Regions from separate parts of the Homo sapiens genome. Here region 2 is linked to region 1. The links are contacts of gene promoters, found by promoter capture Hi-C in blood cells and fetal thymus (Javierre and others, 2016). All regions are on one chromosome and are shown on one strand. Each heading gives the region's core, a stretch centred on a gene start or on the middle of the fragment in contact. The rest is flanking DNA. Distances are from core to core; before and after follow the strand shown.

Region 1 (3,148 bases), core at 221-2,720:
TTGAGGAAGTACTTACTGTAAAGCATTCCAATTTTCCTAAGCAGATCTTTTCCCCTCACAATCCTTTTTCCTCTTTTTTAATTCCAGTAAGTTTTTTGGCTCTTTCATTGGTCATATATGACTGCCATCCGAATCCAACCCTCCTGAATTCTGTCCCTGTCCATTCTAAATCCGTATTCTGCACAAATAAGATATATTAGGTCTCAATACTGGTCTGGAAGTTAGAGTCACGCCTATTTCATTCTGCCTCCATCAAGAAGCGCCCGTAGGAAAAAATAACAACAAAAACAAAAACAAAAACAAAAAAACCCAGAAGCTGGCCTTCCTCAGCGCCAGCCCCAGGACTGGTTTCCCAGCAATAGGCGCAAGGTACAGCCCTTGCCGGAAACTCCCAGTCTTACTCAGGGGGGAAAAATGGGGTTTTCCGGAGACCTGTTCCCCTAGGGTTTAAAAGCGCGTCCCGTGGGAGCTTCGCTTTCACTTCTCTAGGGAGTTCTGAGCTGCAAGAGCCCAGCTACTCGCCGAACCCGGGCCGCCTGCGTGAGTAACTTGGGGCGGCCAGGAGCACGGGAAGGGCGCCAGACAGAGAGCCTTTGGCTGCTTCTGAGACCGGCTGTGGGCTGCCACCGCTGAGCGGCGCGGAGGCTGCAGCGTTCCCTCTCAGGACAGAAAGCAGGCGTTGGGGACTGTTACTCGCAGCCTGCCAGGGGCAGCAGCCGCCCCAGGTTCAAGTGGCTATGTGCCAGGATACTCAGGCGCGGCTGTTGGCTGCCCATGGGAGAGCCAGTGCTCTCCGCAGGTCCAAAGTGCAAGGCCGGGCTATTCCCGGACTTGCCTAGGAGCAGGGGCCCCCAGCGCGTCTGGGATTGCCCCGGCGCGTCGGGCGCGCGAACTTGTGCGCAAGGGAGAAGAGCGCTTACCATGGAACATGGTCTGCGGGAGGCGGGCGTAGTCATGATGACCGCAACTGGAGCAGGAGCAAGCTCTCACCGCCCATAGTCACTCCCAGGACCCTGGTCTTCCGCGGAGTTGCCGAGTCTGTGTTGGGCAGGGTGATCTCTGCAGCTGGTTCCTCTTACCCACGCCGCGACTGCAGTTTCATCCATCCCAAGGGGGGCGGCACACACTACGGCGTGGCTCTGCGCTTTGCCTTTTCCATAACTTCCGTAGGATCCGCCAGCAGTGTACTTTCAGTTTCTACTTTGCGCTTGGTCTGCAGGTTCAATCTTTGGGATCATCAGCATGGAATCTTCATTATCCCCTCTCTCCTGGGCACCTGCTTCCCGCGCACCTGGATGAGGACCAGAGGAATTCGCGAATTTCCGAATCACCGCAGGAAAAACCAGCTGGCCTGAATCAAAGCAATTCTGGGTAAAAGACTTCCCAGATGATCTCTCAACGCCTTGGCAACGCTTGGCGACTGGGAGCTAGAACCATGAGTTGTTAATGTGTGCACGGAAGCCACAAGTGTGCAGGACGCAAGCTGGGTTATTGGAAGCGGACGACACCAAGGAGGCGTTGCCGCGGATGTGGTGGACGATGCCAAGTCGTCTTTTAAAAAAGGAAGTGAAGAATGATTAAGAGGGTCACGCCCTCTACCACTCCAACCTCTCTAATCAGTCTCTTTCTGCTCCGTCTGCTGTACATGCACCTGCTCAGGTGAGACCTCAAGGAAAAATAATCCTGTGGGTCCACCTAATCTGGTAAGTGTTGTATTTGGAAAATCAAACCCCAAATTAAACGCAGGACGTGGAAACTGACGATAATATTTAACTATGACTTCCACGTGCACATTTATCTGAATTGGCTAATAAATCAAACTATTCGTCTTGAATGCATGCCACTGAAATGTTAACTTTTTCCTGGGCTTGAATTATGTAGCTTATTTGCTACATTAGTTTGGTTTCTGCTATTCTGCAGAAACCCTGCTTAGATGAAGGTGGATAATGTAAACCAGTAACAACAGCGATAATAATAACGACTATCATTTATCTAGCATTTGCTCTCTGCCAGTTTTGTGCTAAGCATTTTATGTATATCATCTCATGCAAAACTTTGTGTGAGGTAGACCATTTTCTTATCTGCACTTTACAGATGTGGGGACTGAGACTTCCTTAAGTAACTTTCCAAATTTCACTTAGCTAACTGAGCTTAGACACAGACTTGCTGCATTTGGGCTGTAGAAACTCCTGCTTGGAACTCCTGTGAATAAAGTAATAATGTGCACACTGATGCCGGGAGGGAGATGACAGTACGTGTGTGGCTTTGCCCCAGTGTGGGGACTTCAGGAAAGTTTCCTGGAGTCTGTGACTTCTAAACTGACACTTGAAGAGGAATGAACTTGGGGCTGGTAAGGAGTATGTCACATTCTGCTATAGCGTGAACAAGGAAGAGGAGGGAAGGAGAAAGGAAAAAAAAGGATGGCAATGAACTAGGGAGAACAGAGTTGCTCAAGCCTGAAACTTGGGTCTCTGATTCCTTTTTTGGTCTCATTTCCCACATCAAATCCATAGACAAGTCCTGTCTGCCCCACCTCCAAAATTAACCCTAAGGTGACTATAGAGACTGTCTAAGGGATCTTCCAGCTTTCACTTTTGCCCACAACCCCTTCATTCTTCTCAGAGCAGCAGGATATCTGATTCTATTTTGTGCCCCACCTTCTGGTCACTTCCCACTGGGTACCAGGCCCTCAGTGCCCTGGTGATCTGGGCCCCACTGCCCTCTCTGACGTTTCGTGGTACCACATCACTATCCTCCAGCCACAATGGCCTTTCTCTTCCTGCCCAGCGTCCACTTACTATGGTCTTTAGCCCATGGCTGGCATTCAGTAAGTACTGGGGGGTGACAGAGTAAGAGAGAACAGGTGAGTGGGAATGCATCAGTGAATATGTGTGAAAGAGAAAGTTCATGAAAGCAGAAGGAAATAGAATGAAAGAGGAAGCGAAGGGGGTAAGCAAATGGAAAAGAGAGACAGAATGGAGTGAGAAAAGCCACATATTTCCATTTGACTGGAACCTAGAGTGGGAGGTGGGGAGGAGGACAGACATGACACTGGAGTGAGTTTTAAAAATGATTTCTATAATGAAACACGCCTAGGTTGGGGATTTATTTATTTATTTATTTATTTATTTATTTATTTATTTATTTT
Region 2 (3,115 bases), core at 38-2,537, 100 kb after region 1:
GGCTGGCCTCGAACTCCTGGCCTCAAGCAATTCTCACACCTTGGCCTCCCAAAGTGCTAAGATTATAGGCATGAGTCACTGTGCCCGGCTCCAAGGCATAGAATTTTAATAATGTTTTGTGTTCTTCTGTAACGGGACAGCACTTGAGAAGTTTTCATTTGAGCATGAATGTGAAACTTGGAACTGTAATATTGGTAAGTGACGTATTTTTTTTTTACAGATCATACCATGTTTTTCACATTGTACTTAAGATATTATGTATTAGACCTACTTTTGCCTAAATGTTATTTCCCCCTCTCTACATCAGTGGAATTATTATTATTTTAGCACTTTGTGACATTGTAATTTTATATAATACCACAATTGTTGTGCATTTCTGTGAGTTTTAAACTTGACTTCTTTGCAGAATAGGGACAAAGGGGAGACTAAAGCAAAATACACTAAGGACATCCTAAATTCTCCTTCACCCTCAAGATAATGTAATCATTCATCAGTTCTCCATAAAAATTCATTCAGCAGAGCAGGGAGAAGTCTGGCATTTCATATTTAGCTACCGCTGAGAATATGCTAAAAGCTTTTTCTCAGACACACTGTCATTTCTAAAAATGTCAGGCTTACAGACATGACATGCTCCAGAAACTCACTTTAATTTGAATAATAACTAAGAGCCTGTCACATGCTAAGTCATTGGAACTATTTCCTACTCAGTTCTGCAGTAAAGAAAACAACAAGCTCTCCCCAAGCCTATTCTATTTTCCTTCCCACCTCCCACCAACAAAACATTGTTTTTTCTATCACACAAAAAAGTTATGAGTACTTTAGGTCTCCTATGAAACATTACTGTGTGTGTTTTATTCCAACTATTATAGGCTTCTTCTGCCTTATTCCTTAATAGCAGCTTCTTATTAGATACATAATTTTGTGTCTCTCTTCTGAGAAAACATGAAATTACTGTATTAATATATGTTTTATAAAGGAAAACAAGATATCAAGGAGAGGCTATGCTAGCATTTCATGTGGGTAATCTGAAGAATCTTATGTGTGTTTCATCGACTGCCGTGAAGATTTGATATTTCTTTCTTATGGATTCTGGGAAACACTGTCTTGAAGATAAGATGGCCCCTCTTTTTTTTAGGAAATGAGAACTCAATAAGGAACAATATTGATTCGAGTTCATGCATCTGGGAATTGTAAGGCTTTATGTCCTTCATTAAACATGGTCAGCAGGGGCCCAGATACTCCTGAGCTACAGGCAATTATATATGAGTGGTTTCATTTACCACAAAACAGTAGGTGGCTCACACTTTAGGAATGCTTCCTTGATGTTGGATGTCAAATTCTCATTTAAATTCCTTCAATATCTTCAGTGACTACCTAAGCAGCTTCTTCTACTCCATTGCCTGTAAACGGAGGCTGGCTCTTGGGAAAAAGTGAACTACCACAGATGGGATAGATGTTAGTGGCAGCCGGTATTCATAGACCCAACAGCCATTTTCAGAAGGCACTTGGAAGGATGTTGGTGTGGCCAATGAGATATTCTAACCCCGTAGTTTGAATGTAGGGTGAGCAATGCAAAGGACTGGGGAGAGGGAAGATGCTATTTCAGGGACAGTGAGTGACAGCAACAGACCCCCTGAGGTCCAAGGTCTGGTTATATTGTGATAGCGGTGGCAGCAACAACATTAGTGCCAGACTATTATGAGGGCTGATTTTGGTGGTGATTCTGGTCATTTAGTTTATTTTAGTTTCTAACACTCATCCAAGCCTGAAAATTCATTCACCTCATGGATTCCGGAAAAGCCAATATGCATATGACACATTCATTTTCTGCTAAAAGAATGTTACAAAAGGTTCAGGCAGGTCTAATCACCTGTGGTGGTTCTTTCTTTTTTTTTAATTTCTGATCTGTCACAGATGGATCCCTTCATTACATTAATAAAAAATGTTAGAAAAACCGAGTTAAGAGAAAAAATAAGCTCTAGTTTTTATAACTAGATTCATCAAGCTTAAAATTAAATGTTGTGGTAATCTTCAATGGCAATACAAGTTTCTAAATGGTTAATATCTATTTCTGTGCTTTTCTTATTGTTGGCCAGAAATAAGCAGTTCATGCACTGGCAGACCACAATTCGATTAGTAATGTGGTAAGAAATCAAAATTTAACTCTGTCTGAATCATACTTTTAAATATTACACAAATGTGAGAGAGAGAGGAAAAGGGAGGGGGAGGAGGATAAAAGGTAAAAAGAGGAAGATAGAAAGTTGAAGACTTGAATCAAAACTAGAATAGACATTGCCATAGGCACCTTAGACGTAAGAGTTTATTGGTACCCTAATGAGATTTTTGAGCCTGGATTAGTACTCATTTTGATTGTGCAATTATATTTACAAAGTTGTACCTACATCTTCCCACTGTAATCCTACTTGGATGTTCCAAAATGTATTTTGTGTTTCACTGACAATTGGCGTATGACTTTATTTCAGACAACTACTTCTTAGCCTCCCCAAATTTCCTCCCAAGTATTTCTGGGAGTCCCCAATTTGTGCCTCCCTTGTATTCATGGTCAAAATCAGAAATGATGGGATATTTTCATCAGAAGTATATTCACATGAGGAGCAAAAGATCCTTGGGAGAGAAGCTATCCCAACCAAGCCTGCGCAGGTAACCAAATTTCAGATGGGCAGAACTAATGAAACTGAGAACAGTTTTGGCTGTCACTTGCTTATGCCGAGATGATTGTCTGGTTCCTACAAAGAAAGATAACCGTATATAAAAGTTTAAAAGCTCTATTTTACTAGAAAACACAAGATATTGGGATGTAAACTACAGAGTTTTGTTCCCGTTCTAAGAGATGAGAAGGAAAGTATTCTCCCGAACTTTGCCAACAGAATGCTGCATAATTTTGGCAACATGATGTCTTTGGTACAAAGCAGAGATGTCTACTAAGTGCAGAGTACCCTGTGGGTCTAGCAGTGTCCAAGAGAGGAGAGAAAAATGCTCGAATTAATGGTGCTCCTGCCCAAGATTGGGGAATGCCTGTGAAATAGTGTCTTAGTGGATAGGACAATAGCCAGGGTAATGAGTTTGAGAGGTAGAAGAGAAAAAAGAAAAAGAT

Evidence for each region. Contacts are between HindIII fragments. The CHiCAGO score rates a contact against its expected background, and 5 or more counts as called.
Region 2: a contact is called between a fragment that was not itself captured here and the fragment with the promoter of IL7 in region 1, in 1 of 17 cell types (total B cells). The highest score is 6.0, in total B cells.

The regions. Positions count from the first base shown.
Region 1 is chr8:78,803,993-78,807,140 of GRCh38, forward strand. It overlaps IL7 (interleukin 7), which reads right to left and starts at 1,471. Exons shown (of 6, transcript NM_000880.4): 1 at 921-1,471. The coding sequence starts at 930. MITA1 (metabolism induced tumor activator 1) reads left to right here and starts at 480. Exons shown (of 3, transcript XR_002956715.2): 1 at 480-1,703. The HindIII fragment of the contact is 3,968 bases long and covers 1-3,148 here.
Region 2 is chr8:78,906,525-78,909,639 of GRCh38, forward strand. The region is part of intron 1 of MITA1 (metabolism induced tumor activator 1); the gene reads left to right. The region is part of intron 2 of LOC105375912 (a long non-coding RNA gene); the gene reads right to left. Among named protein-coding and RNA genes, the nearest start is that of LINC02605, 71 kb to the left of the region's middle. RefSeq lists an enhancer at 1,022-1,523. The HindIII fragment of the contact is 1,431 bases long and covers 573-2,003 here.